6 separate regions of the Homo sapiens genome follow, and all the other regions are linked to region 1. Evidence: promoter capture Hi-C in 16 types of primary human blood cells and fetal thymus (Javierre and others, 2016). All regions are on one chromosome and are shown on one strand. The core of a region is centred on a gene start or on the middle of the fragment in contact, and the rest is flanking DNA. Distances in the headings are between cores, read along the strand shown. Region 1 holds the start of ZSCAN25 (zinc finger and SCAN domain containing 25). Region 2 holds the start of ZNF3 (zinc finger protein 3). Region 3 holds the start of AZGP1 (alpha-2-glycoprotein 1, zinc-binding). Region 4 has its middle 14 kb from the start of GJC3. Region 5 holds the start of ARPC1A (actin related protein 2/3 complex subunit 1A). Region 6 overlaps TRIM4 (tripartite motif containing 4).

Region 1 (3,109 bases), core at 316-2,815:
GGAGCAACATATATACCATTATGACAAATGACCTAAAGATTTCTAACTTGTACAGGCTTTACTCTTTAGAAAGCATGTGAACACATATTTCATCTAATACTTAAAACACTTCTGTAGGATGAGTGCTACTCCTCCTACTTCTCAGAAGAAAAAAAAGAGACTAGATGATAACTGCCTCCCAAAATACATGGTACAGATTGAAAAAAAAATGTGAAGTCAAAAAGAGAGAAAACTAATCTAAGTCCAAGTACTCAAGGAAAAGAAGAGGCTTGAAGTAGACTGGAGAATGAGTCCTATTTACCTCCAAGTGGATTATGCGGAAGACCTAGACTGGGAAGACAGACTTGGAAGTCCAAAGCACCAGGGGAAGGAGATCCTGCTTGTCAGAAAACGGAAAGATCACCTGACTGGAGCAGAGAATGGGCAGCTGGCAGGAGGCACACCCCAAAGCTTCTGCTAAATATTCTATTGTGAGTTTGTGTATTTATCTACCCCCACTTAAACCAAGTTTATATTTTCAGTCTATTCATTGACTCTGCAACATTGAGATTTCTCTTTCATTCCTTTCTAGCTATTGCATTGGTTCACTCCACTAGTGCATTTAATGCACTACAGTGCAAATGTTTACCCATGTGTCTCCCTCTAACAGATTCCCTGGAGGCAAGAAAGATCCTCATTCATCTTTTATCTCTGCCATTTGACAAATAGAAATTGCCCCATTGCTATTCTTTATCTCCCCCCACCCATTGTGACTCTTTTGTTTTGTTTCTGAGACAGGATCTCAGGGTTTTATCACCCCAGCTGGAGACCAGTGGTGCGATCACTGCAGCCTTTGCCTCCTAGGATCAAGCGATCCTCCCACCTCAGCCTCCCGAGTAGCTGGGACTACTGGCGAGTGCCACCATGACCAGCTAATTATTTATTTTTGTAGAGACAGGGTCTCCCCATGTTGCCCAGGCTGGAGTGCAGCGGCATGAATGTAAGTCAGTGCAACCTTGAACTCCTGGGCTCAGGCGATCCTCCTGCCTCAGCCTCCCGAGTAGCTGGGACCTCAGGCGCGTGCCACCACGCCCGGCTACTTTTCAATTTTTGTAGAGACAGGGTCTCGCTATGTTGACCAGGCTGGCTCATCACTATTCTTTAAATAAGTGTCCTATGTGATTACTTTCACTTTGCACAGAGTTCTGCTTTGGTTCAAGATCTCTTCGGGTTCGTGGCCAGCCCTGCACTAAGCCAAGCCTGGCAGAGCGGGATCAGCCTCGCTCCTACCTGAGCCTACAGCGCGGCGGCCCCTCAGCGTCCAGACCCGCAGGGCCTCGGGGCCGCTGAAGGCAGCTCCTGAGAGACTTGCCGCCCTCAGCCGGGGCTGAGCGGAGGGAGACGGGCTCTACTGCAACCCCGCTGCCGCCGAGCCCCGTAGCGGCACCAAAACCCGTCCCCGCGCCCGTTTACCACTTCGCCCGCCACCCGCTGCGGCCCTGAAGAGGCTCTCACCCGCCGCGGCCCTGAAGGGCCTCTCACCCGCTAGGGTCGCCAGTGCTATCCGCGGTCCGGAAGTGAGCTGCGGACGCTGTTAGACAGGTGCGTAAGGAAAGACTCGCTTCCGTGTCCTCTCTAGGATGCTCGGAGGTCTCGGCGGATGCGTCTCGATGGTTGCTGATCCCAGCCTGCTGTTCCGAACCCGGCGAGGCGAAGACCACCAGGGCTTCCCCAGGATTGACTGCCCAGCTCGAGGCGCTCTGTGGCTAGGCCCCTTCCACTTCCGTGCCATTTCACCTGCTTGCCCTCCGTGGAAAGGACTCGGTGCATCGCCAGATACACTACTGGACACAGCACCTGCCCCAAGGGGCTTTAGAGTCCAGTCGGTCAATGCGCGACTATTCCGGCTGCGAGGGCCTTGCGCGAGGCGTAGGGGCAGAGGAGATAGGGGGCGCACTGGATCTAACCGGCTCACTTAAGAGGCTCCTGACCCCGGGTAGTGTGCGTGCGTGTGTGTATGTGTAGTCAGGGAAGGCTTCCTGGAGGAGCCAGCATCGGAGCTGTTTTTTGTGGGGGGTTTTTGTTTGTTTGTTTGTTTGTGTTTTTTGAGAAAGAGAGAGAGAAGTCTTGTTCTGTCTCCCAGGATGGAGTGCAGTGGTGAGATCATAGCTCACTGCAACCTCGAAGCCCTGAGTTCAAGCAATCCTCCCACCTCAGTCTCCTGGGTAGCTGGGACTTTTTTTCAATTTTTTGCAGAGAGGGGGATCTCTCTATGTTGCCCAATCTGGTCTCCAACTTCTGGACTCAAGCGATCTTCCCCCCTTGGCCTCCCAAAGTGCTAGGACTGCAGGCGCAAGCCACCGCGTCCAGCCTGAAGGCAGTCTGTCTCAACTGGGTGGCCCAGTGTTACTCCAGAATCCACTCAGGAAACAGGAAACCCTCTTGTCTTACTCTTCTCCAGCACTTTGCAAAGTGTCTGGTACAATATTTGCTAAAAATATACACTTATAGAGTAAATGAACTCCTAGAATATAACATAGGTGTTAGACCATCTCACTTTATCCTCCATGTCTCTGTCCCACTTTCATATTTTTCTTGTCTGCCCATATTTGACTTGGGTTTATGTCTTCACCTTTTTATTAATAATCCACTTTTCAGCTGTTTCTAATGTGCTACAAAATCCACAGTTGTTGTTTTTTTGTTTTGTTTTGTTTTGTTTTTTAAGAGACGAGGTCTTGCTGTGTCACCTAGGCTGGAGTACAGCGGTGCTATCATAGCTCACTACAGCTTCCAACTCCTGGGTTCAAGCAATCCACCTCAGCTTCCCAAATAGCTGGGACTACAGGCATGAGCCACCACACCCAGCTAATCTTTAAAAAATGTTTTGTAAGGACAGGGTCTCACTATGTTGCCCAGGCTAGTCTTAAACTCCTGGGCTCGAGCAATCCTCCCCACTTGGCCACCCATATTTTTGTTTTAATTAATATATTTTTTCCATTTCTAGAATTTCTATTTGATTTTTTCCAAATATTCTAGATCGATCTTTTAAAAGAATTTACCGATATGTTTAAGCTTTTCTTTGTACATAGTAAATATAGTTGAGCCTGATAATTCTGAGATCTGAAGTCCC
Region 2 (3,109 bases), core at 1-2,500, 460 kb before region 1:
GTTCGGAGGCAAGTTTTAAATCAGGGTTCATTTTTTAATATTGATGAATCCTTCAATAATTGTATGTTTACTGCTGCCCTTCGCGAGCCAGCCTGAGAAGCGCGGGCTCGACATCCCCGCGCGCCCCCGCCGCCCGCCCCCAAGGCCGGCGACGCTGGAGCACATGTCCTGAGGCCCAGGACCGTGGTCGGCCGCTTTCGCACATTCGTGGCCAGCAGAGGGCGCAGCCGGCCAGCCCCCGCAGCGAAAGATCCCCGAGTGCCGCGTCAGCGATCGCGCTCCTTGCCCTCGCCGCCTGCCAGCCGCCCTGAGTCAGCAAACCACAGAGAGGCGAGGACCTCCCATTTTCCTAGACAGAACAAGTGGGCGTTGGGGGTACGGGTGAGTGGCAAGAACAACCGACCCGGAAGCGAAACGAGGGGGAACTTCCGTTCTTTGTTCTGTCCCCGGTGTGTGGGTCTGTGACAGGGTCCAACAGGGCCTGGTCCGTGTCCGGTCCCCCAAATCTGTCGTCCCTGCCCCCAGGGTGAGTCCACGCGTCCCCGGGTCTCGCGGTGAGACGGAGGCTGTGGTCGCCGGGGAAGGGGGTGGTGTCTGTGCCACTGCGGCCCGCAGGGTCCCCCGGCCGGCCCGGAGCAGGGTTCGGGGAGGCGCCCCTCCGTCCCCTGCAGCCCGTCCTCTACTCCGCTTCCCCAGGGATCCCCCTAGCCTAGCGGGATCCTGCGTAGGGGTTAGTAATGGGGCTCCGGTTCTGGTTTTGTGACTTTAACGGCGACCCAGCTGGAGCGTTTAAAAGTTTCAGCAGAGCGGTAGGGGCGCCTCTCTCTTGAAAGCAGCTAATGACAGCGACCCTAACTTGGTATTTCTCCCAGACGTTTTTATTTGATGTTAACACAGTTATTCGCGCCCGTGGCAGGAGAGGAAGTTTATTTTTACGCAGCTGGGTCCAAGGATCAGAGAAATTCTGCTAAGCGTACGCAGTTAGCACGAGGGCTGGGAGTGGGTGCAGACGCCGATTCCAGGGGTAATCCTGCTGGAGCCCAGTGCATCGCGTGATACACCTGGCTCAGGCTCCGTTTTCAGTTGTATTAGATTCCTGGTTTGATCCTCTCTCCGGAAGTGGGATTGAATCCACATCGGTGTTTACACTCTGAAGGGCTTTTGTAAACTCCAGGAGAAGATAGCAGAGTGATGAACCTGAAACCGATGGGCTAATTAGAGGAACGAGCGTATTATTTTCTCCAGAAAAGACATCTGTGGAGAGTGGGCATCATTTGATTATACGTGTTTGATGGACAGTCGGGTGGAAGGAGAAGATTCTGTTATTGAAGCTCTTTTTTTAAAAAAATTAATTTTTATTTATTTTTGAGACTGTCTCTGGAGTGCAGTGGCGCGATCTCGGCTCACTGCAACCTCCGCCTCCCGGTTCAAGCGCTTCTCCTGCTTCAGCCTCCCGAGTGGTTGGGACTACAGGCGCCCGCCACCACCTCCGGCGAATTTTTTGTATTTTTAGTAGAGACGGGGTTCCGCCCTTTTGGCCAGGCTGGTCTGCAACTCCTGGCCTCAAGTGATCCACCTGCCTTGGCCTCCCAAAGTGTTGGGATTACAGGCGTTAGCCACCGCGCCCGGCCTTTTTTTTTTTTTTCCTTTTAAAATGTTTGTGTGTGTATTAAGGTCTTGCTCTGTTGCCCCCGGCTGGAGTGCCGTGGTGCCATCATGGCTCACCATAGCCTGGAACTCCTGGGCTCAAGTAATCCTCCCACCTCAGCCTCCTAAAGTGCTGGGGTTACAGGCGTGAGCCACTGCAGGTCGCCAGTCATTGAATTTCTGTGATGCACTAGGTCTCTGTGCGGTGAAGGTCCAAGGAGATAGATTTTCAGCGAATCACCTGAAGACTTCTAATGGCTCAGCTGTGCAATGTGGATCCCCTGCTGAAGTAGTTCGGAGCACAGTGTCTAGCAAGTTAGCTGACAGAACGTTAGAACTTTCTTACCCTGGGTGGAGGTGGACCTGAGAACCTACCATTCCCTTTCATCTCTCCACGGGTGCAACGCAAATACTAGTTGTGGTGGTGGTCTTAATTGGTATTTATTAGCATATAATAAGTATTCTCTTTTTTTTCCTTTTCTTTAAATGTCTTGATTAGAAATGAAGTTTAGGCTGGACTCGGTGGCTCATGCCTGTAATCCCAGCACTTTGGGAGGCTGAGGTGGGAGAATCACTTGAGGCCAGGAGATTGAGACCAGCCTGAGCAACACAGTGAGGCTGCATTTCTACAAAAAGAATTTTAAAAAACTCAGCCAGATGTGGCAGTGCACACCTTTAGTCCCAGCTCCTTGGGAGGCTGAGCTGGGAGGATCACTTGAACTTAGGAGTTTGAGTCTGGAGTGAGCTCAAACTCACTGCACTCCAGCCTGAGCAGCAGAGTCAGACCCTGTCTCATGGAAAAAAAAAGACGTTTGCATGAATATTTTAAATTCCTTTTTTTCCCCTTAATCACACAGCATTGGCATCAACAAAAGTCAGAATTCCCGGGAACTTGAACAGAGGCTGCTAAATTCCCAGTAATTGCTCCTTTGGCCTTCTAGGGACTGACTTCAAAGAAGGAAGGAAAGAATCAGGCAGGTAAAGCTTTCCGTGTCTTGTTCTTACTGCCAGGCCATCTATCTCGGTCCCCACGGGCAGCACCAGGGAGTGAGGCTGGCAACAGAGCAGGGGAAGGGCCCTGTCTGGACCTGAAGCCATGGGGGCACAATGGAGAGTTTTCTTTCTGTGAGAAACGCTGTTTACTGATCTGGACACTGGGTGCTTGTTCTCAACAATATGCCTTTGAGTTCCAGCTTCACTTAACCCAGCTGTGAGAGGGAGCTGTTGCCTTTTTCTCTGGAGTCAGACCTTTGACCTGCCTTTCTAGGAGTTTGTACTGAAAGCTGACTTGTTGAGGGCGTCAGCTCATAAATAGCTCCGGAGATTGTAAAGGTGGTTGATAAGAGGATATGATGGTTGGCTCTGAGACACCATTGAAGGGACCCTGCTAGGAGGGCGATGGTGGCAAGAAGGTGTGTCACCTTGATTGCCAGTGGCCTGGCTTGTGCCTGAGTCAGTGCTT
Region 3 (3,109 bases), core at 447-2,946, 360 kb before region 1:
GTAGTGGGATTAAAAGTAGCATCAATGCACGTGAACAGCTTACAGTTATCACATTCTATAGTTTGTGTATTGGGAATGATAATTATATTTCCAACCAACAGCATGTAAGGGGGTTTGACATAGCTCCTGATGGGTATCACCCGTTCAGATATGAGGGTGATGTTGAATGTGGGTGTTTTGGTATTAGTGTGAAGGAGTTGATAGGTAGTGTTCCATATCCTTATTCCTGTCATAGCTGCAGCTAATTTTCATAGTTGAGGATGTTCTGGGGTAACAAAGGGATGAATCATTTTTGGTCTAGGAGGAGTAATGCCTGCATCCATCCATTTAAATAGGTAAGGGGACACCCATTGTCTCAGCCTGTATGACTGCCATCCATCCTCTACATAATCTAACAAATAATTAAACTCTGAGCATGAGGTATTTTTGCTGGAGCAATCTTGCCAATAATGCCCTTTTGGAGCCCAATCAATAACAATACCTGCGGCTAGACTTTGGAGCACAACGGCCTTAGGAGCATTACAATTATTCCATAAAATTGAAGTCACTATAAAAGGTCCCTTTGTAGGTTTCTTTAACCAAAAGAGAGGCTGGGCACAGTTGCTCACACTAGTAAACCCAGCACTTTGGGAGACCGAGGCGGGCAGATCACGAGGTCAGGAGTTCAAAACCAGCTTGGCCAACATGGTGAAACCCCTGCCTCAGCTTCCTGAGTGCTGGGATTATAGGCATGTGCCACCACGCGCAGCTAATTCTTGTATTTTTTCAGTAGAGACGAGGTTTCATCATGTTGCCCAGGCTGGTCTCGAGTACCTGACCTCAACCTGAGGTGATCCAACCACCTCAGCCTCCCAAAGTGCTGGGATTACAAGCATGAGTCACCGCACCCGGGCCCCAGTCACTTTAGAATAGCATGTTGCTTTGTATTCGGAGGGTCTCTCTGCAAATAGCCCATCAACACTGAGCGTGCCTGGAAAGACCTGGTTTTCAAATAACTGGCTTCGTCTGTGTAAAACGAGTCTTGTTGTATGCATTAAAAATTATCTTGGCTGGGCGTGGTGGCTCACGCCTTTAATCCCAGCATTTTGGGAGGCTCGTTCTGTTGCCAGGGAGGCTGCAAAAGGAGGATGCGGCTATTTCTGCTTCCATCATGGAAGGCTGGGATTCCACAGGCACAGAAAGGAAGGAGGGAGAGATGGGAATGTGACTGTCCTCCAGACACAGCCTCTGGCAGGATCGGATGTGGGAGAGTGAGGGTCCCACCCCAGCTGGGGTCTACCCAGGTCCATGTCTTGGACATGTTGAGAGTTTTTCTGGAAGGCAGGGATACAGTGTGGTCCAAAAACACACAAATGCCCCTACTGGCCCAGGGGTTGTCACAATAGACTGGAAGGGTGACACATCCCAGGCGCTTGCCACCCATCACACGCACCTCCTACCCACTGGCATCCTTCCACCCCAGGCACACACAAAGCCTCAGTCCAGAGATCAACTCTGGACTCAGCTCTGAATTTGCATATCCTGTGTGTAGATTCATTCTTCATAACCTCTGCCCAGCCTAGCTTGTGTATCATTTTTTTTTCTCTATTAGGGGAGGAGCCCGTCCTGGCACTCCCATTGGCCTGTAGATTCACCTCCCCTGGGCAGGGCCCCAGGACCCAGGATAATATCTGTGCCTCCTGCCCAGAACCCTCCAAGCAGACACAATGGTAAGAATGGTGCCTGTCCTGCTGTCTCTGCTGCTGCTTCTGGGTCCTGCTGTCCCCCAGGAGAACCAAGATGGTGAGTGGGGAAAGCAAGGGATGGGTGCTGGAGAGGACTGGAAGGAGGTGAGGAACAGGACATGTGGCTGGGAGACAGGCTGGATGCAGCTGGGATACCCTGGCATACGGCAGGAATGGGTGCCCAAGGCTGTCAACTCCCTCAGCTCACACACTTCCAGGAGCATTCAGGGAGCCTCTGCGCTGGCCCGAAATAAGACCTTCAGGAATCTGAATCTAAAACCCCTAGTTTACAGTGAAAACAAAGACTCCAAAGACCAAGCGACCTGCTTGGGGTAGACAGTCAGGACGGAGTAGGAACCATATGCCTGGAGCTGCTTCTGCTCCTGTTCCTTCCCTCCTTCCGATGGCTGGGTACACCTGCCTGACGCTGAGGGAAAGAGAGAGCAGCCCCAAGGGGAAAGTGGGAAGGCAGGTTGGCTGGAGGGATGGTGCTAGAAGGAAACCCGTGCCCAAATCCCACACTCAGACACCACTGCAGTGGGTCTGGAAGGCGAGTGGCTGGAAGAGAAGAGAGTGGGAGCTCCGGGAGATCAAGAGTCACTCCTAGGATAAGGGAAGGAGGCTGTTTGTGGCATGAGAATGTGCAGGATAAAGACATGGAAGCGAATGGCTTCTCAGTTGTGTGAGTTTAAAATTCATGACATTTACAAATTGTCAGAAAAGGTGTTATATGTTTGTTATATAACAATCACTTTGGAATGTTAATCTGATTCTGTGCCAAAATCTGAATTACTCAGGGTTCTCCAGAGAAACAGAACTAATAGGTGGTACACATATACATATATATGTACGTACACATACATACATACACTGTATACACATGGATACACACACACATAGGAAGAGATTTACATATATGTATACAAAAGAGAGAGAGAGTAGAGATTTATTTTAAGAAATTGACTCACACTATTGGGAGGAGTAACAAGTCCTAAATCTTCAGAGCCGGCCAGCAGGCTGGAGACCCAGGGAAGAGTTGATGTCTTAGTCTTGATTCCAAGGGCAGACTGTAGGCAGAATTCTTTCCTCTTTAGGGGACATCTGAGGCTTTTTCTCTTAAGGCCTTCAACTGATTGGATGAAGCCCACCACTATGGAGAGTAATCCACTTTACTCAAGGTCTACTGATTTTTTTGTAAATTAAAAAAAAAACTGTGGGTGCATAGTATGTGTATATATTTATGGGGTACATGAGAGGTTTTGATTCAGGCATGCAATGTGAAATAATCACATCATCAAAAATGAGGTATCCATCCCTTCAAGCTTTTATCGTTTGTGTTACAGACAATCCAATTATACTTTTTTGGTTATTTTAGTTTTTAAAAG
Region 4 (3,109 bases), core at 204-2,703, 330 kb before region 1:
GACGTCAACCTGGGAGCGGAGCTTGCAGTGAGCTGAGATCACGCCACTGGACTCCAGCCTGGGTGACAGAGCTAGACTCCGTCTCAAAACAAACAAACAAACAAAAAAAAACCACACAAAAAAACAAAAAAAATTAGCCAAGCATGGTGGTGTACACCTGTTGTCCCAGCTACTCAGGAGGCTGAGGTGGGAGGATCACTTGAGCCTGGAGGTTGAGGTTGCAGTGACCTAAGATCGTGCTACTGCACTCCAGCCTGGATGATAAAGTGAGACCCTGTTTCACAAAGAAAAAGAAAAAGAGTTAAAAAAATCCAGGCATGAACAGGAAGGGATGAGCATGGAATAAAACCAGGATGCTGCCTCCGTACCACCAGTTCTTTGATTTCAACTTGTTGCTCAGTTGAATCATTGCCATACTGGTGAGAAAGAAATGTATTTGCTGACTGTTGGTCAATATTACAGATTTAAAACCTGTGCACTCTTAAGACCTCACCAGTTTATAGTTTTGTTTCTTCCAGATTTCTGCGGAAAGATGGGCCCAAGGCTGGCTTTGCTCCCTTTTCTCTAGGTCACACAGTATCCTAGGCCCTGTGCTGTTATATTTGACTCTGTGGAAGATGCTTTGTTTTCAGTTCTGAGCCTTTTCTTCTGCTGATTCCTTCTCAACCTTTGTTCCTTGTGTCGCTCACCCTCCCCCAAACCAGGTAGATGCACCCAGGTGTGGAAAAGAGGGAGGGAGAAGAAAGATCCCTTCTGTCATTGATACAGGAGCTAGAAAAAAATTATTTAGGCAGATAGTGAGGGTAAGAGAGTCCGTGGTAAGATTTCCCTTTAATGAAAAGCAGCCCCCAAATAATTTCTTTTCTAACAATAAGCAGCCTGAAAAATTAAGCTGCAAGCATAGATAAGCAAGCTAAAAGCTTGCATAGGTAAATGCCAACAGCTGTGCCAATAGAAAAGGGACACCTGGAAGCCAGGTATATTCAACATGGAGGTGCCCTCTTCCCTTTCCTTTGTCAACACGCTTGCAGTAAAAAAGCAGGCAACGTGGTGATGGCCAAGTAGAGACCCCATCTGCATAATAAAAGGTTAAGGTGAGATGGCCAACTTGTTGGTGCGCTATGCAAATGGCACACCTGGTCTGACTAATCTCTCGGGCCCTATGTAAATCAGACACTGCCTCCTCAAGCTTGTCTATAAAACCCCCCCCCCGTGCATTTCACCACAAAACCGGAAGACCCACTCGGAAGTCCCTCTCTCTCTGCAGGAGAGAGAGCTTTTCTTTTTTCTCTTTCTTTTGCCTATTAAACCTCCAATCTTAAACTCCTCCTTGTGCGTCTCCACCTTCTTGATTTCCTTGGCGTGAGGCAATGAATCTTGGGTATTACTCCAGACAAATGACGCCACTTCATCATCGTTCTTGGGGCACAGAGGTGCTGAGCTTCCACATTTCTCTTCGCTCCCTACTCTTGGGTGAGCCCTTCACCCTGGGTACCCTGTTGCCCCAGGCCTTGGCACGTGTTGTCAACGTATGGCTGTGGGAGGAGGCTGGTCTTGTCTGGTGGGAAGGAGAGAGACAAAGAGGGCATTGTTGATAGAAGAAGTGGAATGAGAGCTCCCTTTACCCTTGGGGGCTTCTTTTCTGGCATTAATCCTCAGAAAATAATTGTGAAAGAGAAGTTTGTCTTTGTGCTTTAGGGTGCTGTCAGAAGCTTAGAAATAATTAGGCAGAATCCCCATCCCCCCAATCCCCATCACCAACTTTAGTCTCCTCCCCCGATACCCACACTGACCCAGGGTTAGGGACATTTATAAATGGAGCCATTGAGGACTCAGGAGAAACTCATGCAACTGAAAAATGTCCCCTATTTCCTGGGTCCTAGGCAGCTCCCCACTTTCCACTCCCACTTCAGACATTTAGACAAGGACTTTGGTCACTCTGGCTAGACCATCTGTGTAACCCAGAATGGTGGGGTCACAACTCTTGGTTTCCAAGGATATAATCACATGTTGTGAGCAAAAATGTGCTGAACACACCTGACTCTGTGGCTTCTTCTTGAGAAGTGATTTTGCAGAGCGGGGAAGGGTCGACTCTGGAAACGTTTCATTTGTCTATTGGCCATTTGGATTTCTTCTGTGAAGTGCCTTTTCATGACTATCATCTATATTCTCTTAAGTTTGTCCTTGTTATTGATTTGTAGTTCTTTATATATCCCTGATAACAAGGCTTGCTTTTTCATGCTCTTTATATATATTTTTAAAAGCAGCTTTAGCAAAGTGTAACATACAAAAATCTGCACATAAAATGTAAAATGTGATGTTTTGACATATATATATATGCACTGAAACCATCCCTATTAATTCCATTGTGATCAAAGACATATATTGTATCACTTAAATCCTTTTACATGTATCCAGGCTTATTTTATGGTGTAGAACATGATCTATCTTGGTAGATGTTCTGTGTGCTCTTGACAAGAATGTATTGTTGCGTAGAATGTTCTATTGTCAATTTTGTTGATTAGGTCAATTTGGCTTATAGTATTGTTCAAGCCTTCTATTTGTTTACTGATTTTCTGTCTACTTGTCCTATCAATTTTTGAGAGATGGGTGTTGGCTCCTTAACTATTTTGTGAATTTGTCTATTTCTCCATGTATTTCTATTAATTTTTGCTGTACGTATTTTGAAGCTCTGTTATTACGTGTGTAAACATTTAGGATTTGATAAATGGACTCATTTGTAACAATCAAATATCTTCTTTATCTCTGGTAATATTTTTTGCTCTGAAATCTACTTTGATATTAATATAGTCACTGTAGGTTACTTTTGATTAGTGTCAGCATGGTATATTTTCCATTATTTTACTTTTAACCTTGTACCTTTATAATTAAAGTGAGTTATCTTTGGGCAGCATACTGTTAGGTCTTGCTTTGTAAGTTAATATGTTAATCTCTGCCTATAAATTGGAATGGTTAGATCATTTATATTTAATGTGATGATTTGTATGGTTAGGTTTAAACCTCTCATGTTGCTATTTGTTTTCTATTTGTGCCATTTGTTTGATCTGTTCCCCCTTTCCTCTTTTTCTACCTTCTGTTGGATTGAGCA
Region 5 (3,109 bases), core at 420-2,919, 290 kb after region 1:
GAGGATAGCTTGAGCTTAGGAGCTCCAGACCAGCTTGGGCCACATATGGAGACCCTGTCTTTACAAAAAATACAAAAAAAAAAAAAAAATTAGCCAGGCGCAGTGGCTCATGCCTGTAGTCACAGCTACTCGGGAGGCTGAGGCAGGAGAATCGCTTGAACCCAGGAGGTGGAGGTTGCAGTGAGCCAAGATCACACCACTGCACTCCAGTCTGGGTGACAGAGTGAGACTCTATCTCCAAAAATAAGTAAATAAAAATAAATGAAAATTAGCCCAGTGTGGTGGCACACGCCTGTAGTCCCAGCTACTCAGGAGGCTGAGGTGGGAGGATCTGTTAAGCCCAGGAGGTCGAGGCTGCAGGAAAAAAAAAAAAAAGGAAGACAACAACCACAGTTACCCACTCCCTAACAGGACAAAAACACCTTCCTGACTGATGCCCCTCCTCTGTTTTTAGATACCTGAAAACCCAGGCCCTATGTGAAACCACAAGACTAGATAAAATTGAGGAGAGAGGGCAGAACTAAGATAATCTCGGCAATTTAAGCTACGAGTTGACATAGACAGAAGGTTCCAAAGCTGCAGGAGAACAGATGGCTTTATAATCAAAGATTCTAAGCTATAACTGATTAAGTGCCTATCATGTTCCCAGCAGTGTTGTAAATACCGGGATGGGGCTAGAAACATAAATAAGGCTGACACCATTCTGGTCTTCAAGTCTGGAGGGTTGGTGTTTGGGGAGAGTGGAGGAGATAGAAAAGGAAAGGAAGACGGATATGCATAGAATGCCCAGAAGCAGTAATAATAGCTAATATTTATTGATCACCTACTCTCGGCCAGGAACTATTCTAAGCAATTTATGCAAATAAGCTCACTTGATTCTTAGCAAAACGGTAAGAATCTTTTTATTGCAGATGAGGAAACAGGCGCAGAGAAGCATCTTCCCAGGATCACTCAACAAAGTGGTGGTGCCAGGACTGGCATAAAAGATTCCACTAAATGAATAAGAGCGCCGAGAAGGGTGCAATTTTGACTTGGGGGAAGGCGGTACTCATGCAGGGAAATCTTAAAAGAACTCGGGAGAAGGTTTTTCTCGAGATCGAGAAGGTTCCCCATTAACCGAAGGATTGAGGGCTGCCCTAGAGAGCAGGCAAACATCCTATGGGCGCCTACTGTATGCAGGGATCGACTCTAGACACTAAAGAGATGAATAGTCCCGCGGGTCGCTCGATTACGGGAGATCCTCCTACTTGACACAATTTTAGAGACGGTGACAAATGCCCCCAGCAGAGGTGCAAGTAGGACCCTGGGGGCGCAGAAGGGGCCGTTAATTCGGGCATCGGAGGCGGCTAGGAGCTCGAACATCCTGAGAAAAGCTGCAGGGGATCCACGGAGAAAGGGGATCCCCGCCCCCTCAGGAGGCCCCGGCAGGGAGACCCGGCCGCGCCTCAGCCTCGGGGCCCCGCGGCCTGAGCCCCCGTCTCACTGCCCCCGCGGCAAGTCCGGCGCCAGGCCTGGACAAGAGAGGCCGACAGGGTGAGACGCTCGCCCCTGCTGGCCGTTACCTGGGATCGGGGGAGTCCGGACGGGCTCGGAGCGGAGGATTCGCGGACTCTGGGCAGTCGACGCGAACAGGCTCCGTCGGGCGCGGGCGGAGGACGGAAGCCCAGAGGGAGCGGCTGACAGATCCCGGAAGTGGACACGGCGCCTGCGCGTTGCGACCGCGCGGACGGTCCGCGCATGCGCACAGCTCGGGCGCGCAGTCCGGGGTTAGGCAGGCTGCAGTGGAGGAGGGTACGCCGTTCCATTGGCGTGGTACTGTCGGCGGCCCTTCAGAGGAGATGCTGCCCCACGGAACGCCTGGCAAGTGCTGGCGAAGCGGCATGGGCGTCCCACTCCGTTCCTCAACCAATTTCCTCACAATCGCGAGCCGAAGTGTGGCGCTTTGGCAGTTTCGCAAGGTCTTTTGTCAGGAGATGAGTTACTGAGGATTGGGGGTCTTTGGAGCTCTTGGACCTGAAGAACGATTAAGTTTTTCTCCCTTCAGAGAGCCAAGGTCAGAGCCAGTCTACCTCAGCGCTGCTCCCTGCAGGGAGCCTCCGCCCCCGCCGTGCTCCCTCTGTGGAAAGCCCCTGAAGCCCCCCAGGAACTTTCTCGACCCTTCCTGGGACAGAATCCCCTGCTCCCAAGCAGTTCCCTGCTCCCAAGATGGCGCAGCAGGGATAAAAGGGTTGGGGGAACTTGGCAAGGCCCCCAATTCACAGAGGACAGAGCCTGCCCCGCAGATGCAGCCTCCAAGAAATGCCCTGATCCCCACCTGCAATCAGGCTGCTGCCCTTGAACCCTAGAAATTCTGGAGCATCCCCAGCCCCCACAGATGGGGCTAATCGAGAGCTTTTCTTTTTTCTTTTTTTTTAGACAGGTTCTCAACCTGTAGCCCAGGCTGGAGTGCAGTGGCGCGATCATAGCTAACTGCAGCCTGGAACCCCTGGGCTCAAGCGATCCTCCCGCCTCAGCCCCCCGTGGAGCTGGGACTACAAGTGCACACCACCACGCCTGGCTAATTTTTATTTTTTGGTAGAGACAGGGTCTTGCTGTGTTGCTTAGGCTGGTCTTGAACTCCTGGGCTCAAGCGATCGTCCCTCTTTGGCCTCTCAAAGCCCTCAGATTACAGGTGTGAGCCACTGTGCCTGGCTAATTTTTATATTTTTTGTAAAGATGAGGTTTTCCTATGTTGTCCAGGCTGGTCTTGAACCCCTGGGCTCAAGCAATCCTCTAGCCTCTGCTTCCCAAAGCGATGTGAGCTCCCCCCCGCCGCCGCCCAGCGCCATGCCAGGCCAACCAAGGGCTTGTCTCCTTCCCTTTGGTATTGTAAGGTGAGGTTTATGTAGGTATACTTGTCAAACTCTCAATTTCAGACCCGCTGTGATCTTTTTGAGACGGAGCCTTTCTCTGTCGCCCAAGCTGGAGTGCAGTGGCGCGATCTCGGCTCACTGTAACCTCCGCCTCCCGGGTTCAAGCGATTCTCCTGCCTCAGCCTCCCGAGTAGCTGGGACTACAGCTGCGCGCCACCATGCCCGGCTAATTTTTGTATTTTTAGTATAGACGGGGT
Region 6 (3,109 bases), core at 391-2,890, 280 kb before region 1:
GCAGTGACCCATAATGGAGGAAAATAATCAACTGAAACTGACCTAGAATTGACACAGATGTTAGAATAAGCATGGAAGGACTTTAAAACATTTATTATGAGTGTATTCTGTAAAGAGGTACATAGAGACCAGATCAAAGTTTTAAAGATGAAAAATGTGATTAAGGCGAAGAATGCACTGGATGGGATTAATAGTTGATTAAATATTACAAAAGAAAAAATTGGTGAACTTGAAGACAGAGCAATGGAAACTACAAAAAAATGAAACATACACAGAATAAAACAATTTACAAAAACACAAAGAGCATCAGTGACCTGTGGGACAACTTTATGCAGCCTTATTATCTATGGTGATTGGCGTCCCTGAAAGAGAGGAGTGGGGAGGGAGATGGAATAGGAAAAATACTTGAAGACATAATGGCCAAAGATTTTCTGAATATAATAAAAACTAAGTCCACAGATCCAAGATGCTCAACAAACCCTGAGTATGAGAAATATGAAGAAAAATATGCCAAGGCTCATCATAACTTGCTGGAAACCAGTGTTAAAAAGAAAATCTTAAATGCAACCAGGGGAGAGGATAGTTACTTGCAGTGGAACAAAGACGAAGTTGACATTACACTTCTCATTGGAAACAATGCCAGTAAGCAAACTCTTTAAAGTCCTGAAAGAAAAAAACTGTTAACCTAGAGTTCTAGAACTGGCAAAAAATATCCTTCAAAAACAAAGGTGAAATAAATAAGTTTGGAGGTAAACTAAAGCTTAAAAGAAAGAGTTTACAGCAGACTGACACTTCAAGAAAGGAAGTCTTAAAGGAAGTCCTTCAGACAGAAGGAAAATGCCAGATGGAAATCTCTCTACACAAAGGAATAAAAGAGCACCAGAAATGGTAATGACACGAATAAATATATATTATTGTCATTATTTATTCCTTTAAAAAGGAATTGCGATGGTAAGTTTATACATCAACTTGACTGGGCCACAGAGTGCCCAGATATTGGTCAAAAATTATTTTGGGTGTTTTTTTGAGGGTGATTTTGGATAAGATTAACATTTAAGTCAGTAAGCCTGTGTAGACTGCCCTTCATAATGTGGGTGGGCCTCATCTAATCAGTTGAAGGCTTGAATAGAAAAAAAAGGCTTGACCTTTCTGATGGATTTCTAAAGCATACTACCTTGGCCTTCACTGCAGCATTGGCTCTTCCTGCCTAATGGCCTTCCAACTAGAACGCTGGCTCTATCTGGGTCTTGAGCCTGCCAACTCACACAGCAGATTCGGACTTGTCAGTAGCAATAATCACACAAGCCAGTTCCTTATATTAAATCTTATACACTGGCTGGGTGTGGTGGCTCACATCTGTAATCCCAATTCTTTGGGAGGCTGAGTTAGGAGGATTGCTTGAGGCCAGGAGTTTGAGGCCAGCCTGGGCAACATAGTGAGACCCTGTCTCTACAAAAAATAAAATAATTAGTGTGCTGGTGTGTGCCTGTAGTCCCAGTTACTTGGGAGGCCACGGCGGGAGGATGGCTTAAGCCCAGGAGGTTGAGGCCGCAGTGAGCTGTGATTGCACCACTGCACTCCAGCATGGGCAACAGCGAGACCCCATCTCAAAAGAAAACCCAGAAAACTCACAGGTGCATGCATGCACGTGTGCGCACACACACCCACCCACCATACACAGACACAGACATATATATCCTTTTGGTTCTGTTCCTTTGGAGAACCCTAATAATTGACTATTTCAACAGACAAAATATGGTGTATTTTGGAACTTATATTTAAAAGTAAAATCCATGACAGTAGTGTGAAGATTGGGAGAGGAGAGATGAAAGTATACTATGATACAGTTCTCATGTGTGAAGTGGTATAATATCACTTGAAGGGAGACTGATAAAAAGGTGTATACTTGTGCCAGTCCCCTACTGACTTCATTAAGGATGGCACCGTGTCTGAAAGGCCGAAGAGGAGATCTGGAGTAGTGAATGAGACATGGGGTTTATTGAAGACCTACATGCAGGGCAGTCCAGGAATGGCCAGCTGGACAGGAAAACAAACCACTGCTATTTGTAAAAAGCATGCAGGTTATATATAGCATTTTCATTTAGCAATCTCCACCTGGGACCTTCCATTTAACCCAAAAGAAAGGGCCTCGATTCCCTGTATTGCCTGCATTCCAAGGAATGGACCAGGAGTTCACATGGCCTTTATAGATGAGGAGTGCATTTCTGGGTTGGCCACTCCTGGATTCTTTAGCTCAGAACTCTGAATACACAGTCTTCTTAGACCATAGGGTTATTCTCAGGGTGTGCTGGAGTTACTGCTGTCAGGTGTGTCTGCCGTACACTGCAGTCCAGCATACCCTTGAATGGCCCCCACATTCTTATCACGTCATTCTCTGCAACTTCCCTGAGGCAAGGTATGTGCAGTAGCATTGCTGCCAGATGCTGCAGCAGCGTTAGAAACTACAGCAACAAAAGACAATGACAAGCATAGTAGCAATCATACTCTACAGAAAGCTTTTCCAAGCACTTGATAAGATAGAGAATTTTTACTGAAATATGGGTTTCTAGGGTTCACATAACCCCGGTTATAATGTGAGAGTAATAGGGATATATACACAACATTTGGTTTTAATTAATGTGCAGCTTCCACCCAGGGCAGCAGTTAAGATATCCAGGGCCATGCGATTTTACACAGTTGCCCAGTGAGAAGAGTAATGGCATGGCACAGGTATCCTTGAAGGCTGCAGCCATATGTTTAGCGAGGTCTCCAAATTGCAACTCCAGAATGCACACTTCTGGAAGTGCCTGGCTTTTATACTCTCCCAGTTAGTAAGAATGGTGTCTCAATGGGACAGAATGTGTCCGGCAGGTGAAGACGACCCCAGGTGCATCTACCAGCCCAATTTTAGGGTAAGTAAGGCCAGCTGTGGTTGCCGTCTACCTGTAGCCATCCCCAAGGGGAGGGCATGGGCCCCTACGTGGAGACAGTTACTGTGCCACCCTAGCCACATATTATTGGCTATTTGAAGGGATTGGTTGCATTGCTGTGGGGGTAGCCACCCCACATTAAGAGTTTAGCTTGTGACATGCTATTATCATGCCTTTCA

What was found. The method cuts DNA at HindIII sites, captures the fragments that hold promoters and counts their contacts. A CHiCAGO score of 5 or more calls a contact.
Region 2: a contact is called between a fragment that was not itself captured here and the fragment with the promoter of ZSCAN25 in region 1, in 7 of 17 cell types (erythroblasts, fetal thymus, naive CD8 T cells and 4 more). The highest score is 7.5, in erythroblasts.
Region 3: a contact is called between the fragment with the promoter of AZGP1 here and the fragment with the promoter of ZSCAN25 in region 1, in 14 of 17 cell types (M1 macrophages, erythroblasts, M0 macrophages and 11 more). The highest score is 17.4, in M1 macrophages.
Region 4: a fragment that was not itself captured here is called in contact with the fragment with the promoter of ZSCAN25 in region 1 in 1 of 17 cell types (M1 macrophages); the score reaches 5.1 in M1 macrophages.
Region 5: a contact is called between the fragment with the promoter of ARPC1A here and the fragment with the promoter of ZSCAN25 in region 1, in 1 of 17 cell types (neutrophils). The highest score is 5.3, in neutrophils.
Region 6: a contact is called between a fragment that was not itself captured here and the fragment with the promoter of ZSCAN25 in region 1, in 5 of 17 cell types (erythroblasts, M1 macrophages, M0 macrophages and 2 more). The highest score is 10.7, in erythroblasts.

What each region holds. Positions count from the first base shown.
Region 1 is chr7:99,615,402-99,618,510 of GRCh38, reverse strand. It overlaps ZSCAN25 (zinc finger and SCAN domain containing 25), which reads right to left and starts at 1,565. Exons shown (of 8, transcript NM_145115.3): 1 at 1,495-1,565. RefSeq lists enhancers at 1,530-1,849, 1,440-2,419. The HindIII fragment of the contact is 2,601 bases long and covers 453-3,053 here.
Region 2 is chr7:100,079,052-100,082,160 of GRCh38, reverse strand. ZNF3 (zinc finger protein 3) reads left to right here and starts at 438. Exons shown (of 6, transcript NM_032924.5): 1 at 438-526; 2 at 2,505-2,625. RefSeq lists a silencer at 30-109 and enhancers at 1-193, 350-499. The HindIII fragment of the contact is 2,766 bases long and covers 1-2,633 here.
Region 3 is chr7:99,974,618-99,977,726 of GRCh38, reverse strand. AZGP1 (alpha-2-glycoprotein 1, zinc-binding) reads left to right here and starts at 1,696. Exons shown (of 4, transcript NM_001185.4): 1 at 1,696-1,782. The coding sequence starts at 1,707. The HindIII fragment of the contact is 13,516 bases long and covers 1-3,048 here.
Region 4 is chr7:99,942,424-99,945,532 of GRCh38, reverse strand. No RefSeq gene overlaps it. Among named protein-coding and RNA genes, the nearest start is that of GJC3, 14 kb to the right of the region's middle. RefSeq lists an enhancer at 720-1,575. The HindIII fragment of the contact is 523 bases long and covers 1,192-1,714 here.
Region 5 is chr7:99,324,458-99,327,566 of GRCh38, reverse strand. ARPC1A (actin related protein 2/3 complex subunit 1A) reads right to left here and starts at 1,669. Exons shown (of 10, transcript NM_006409.4): 1 at 1,563-1,669. LOC105375421 (a long non-coding RNA gene) reads left to right here and starts at 1,759. Exons shown (of 4, transcript XR_927798.3): 1 at 1,759-2,053. RefSeq lists a silencer at 1,389-1,568 and an enhancer at 1,544-2,103. The HindIII fragment of the contact is 5,893 bases long and covers 1-3,109 here.
Region 6 is chr7:99,898,311-99,901,419 of GRCh38, reverse strand. All of the region lies in intron 5 of TRIM4 (tripartite motif containing 4), which reads left to right. Among named protein-coding and RNA genes, the nearest start is that of TRIM4, 20 kb to the left of the region's middle. The HindIII fragment of the contact is 1,756 bases long and covers 763-2,518 here.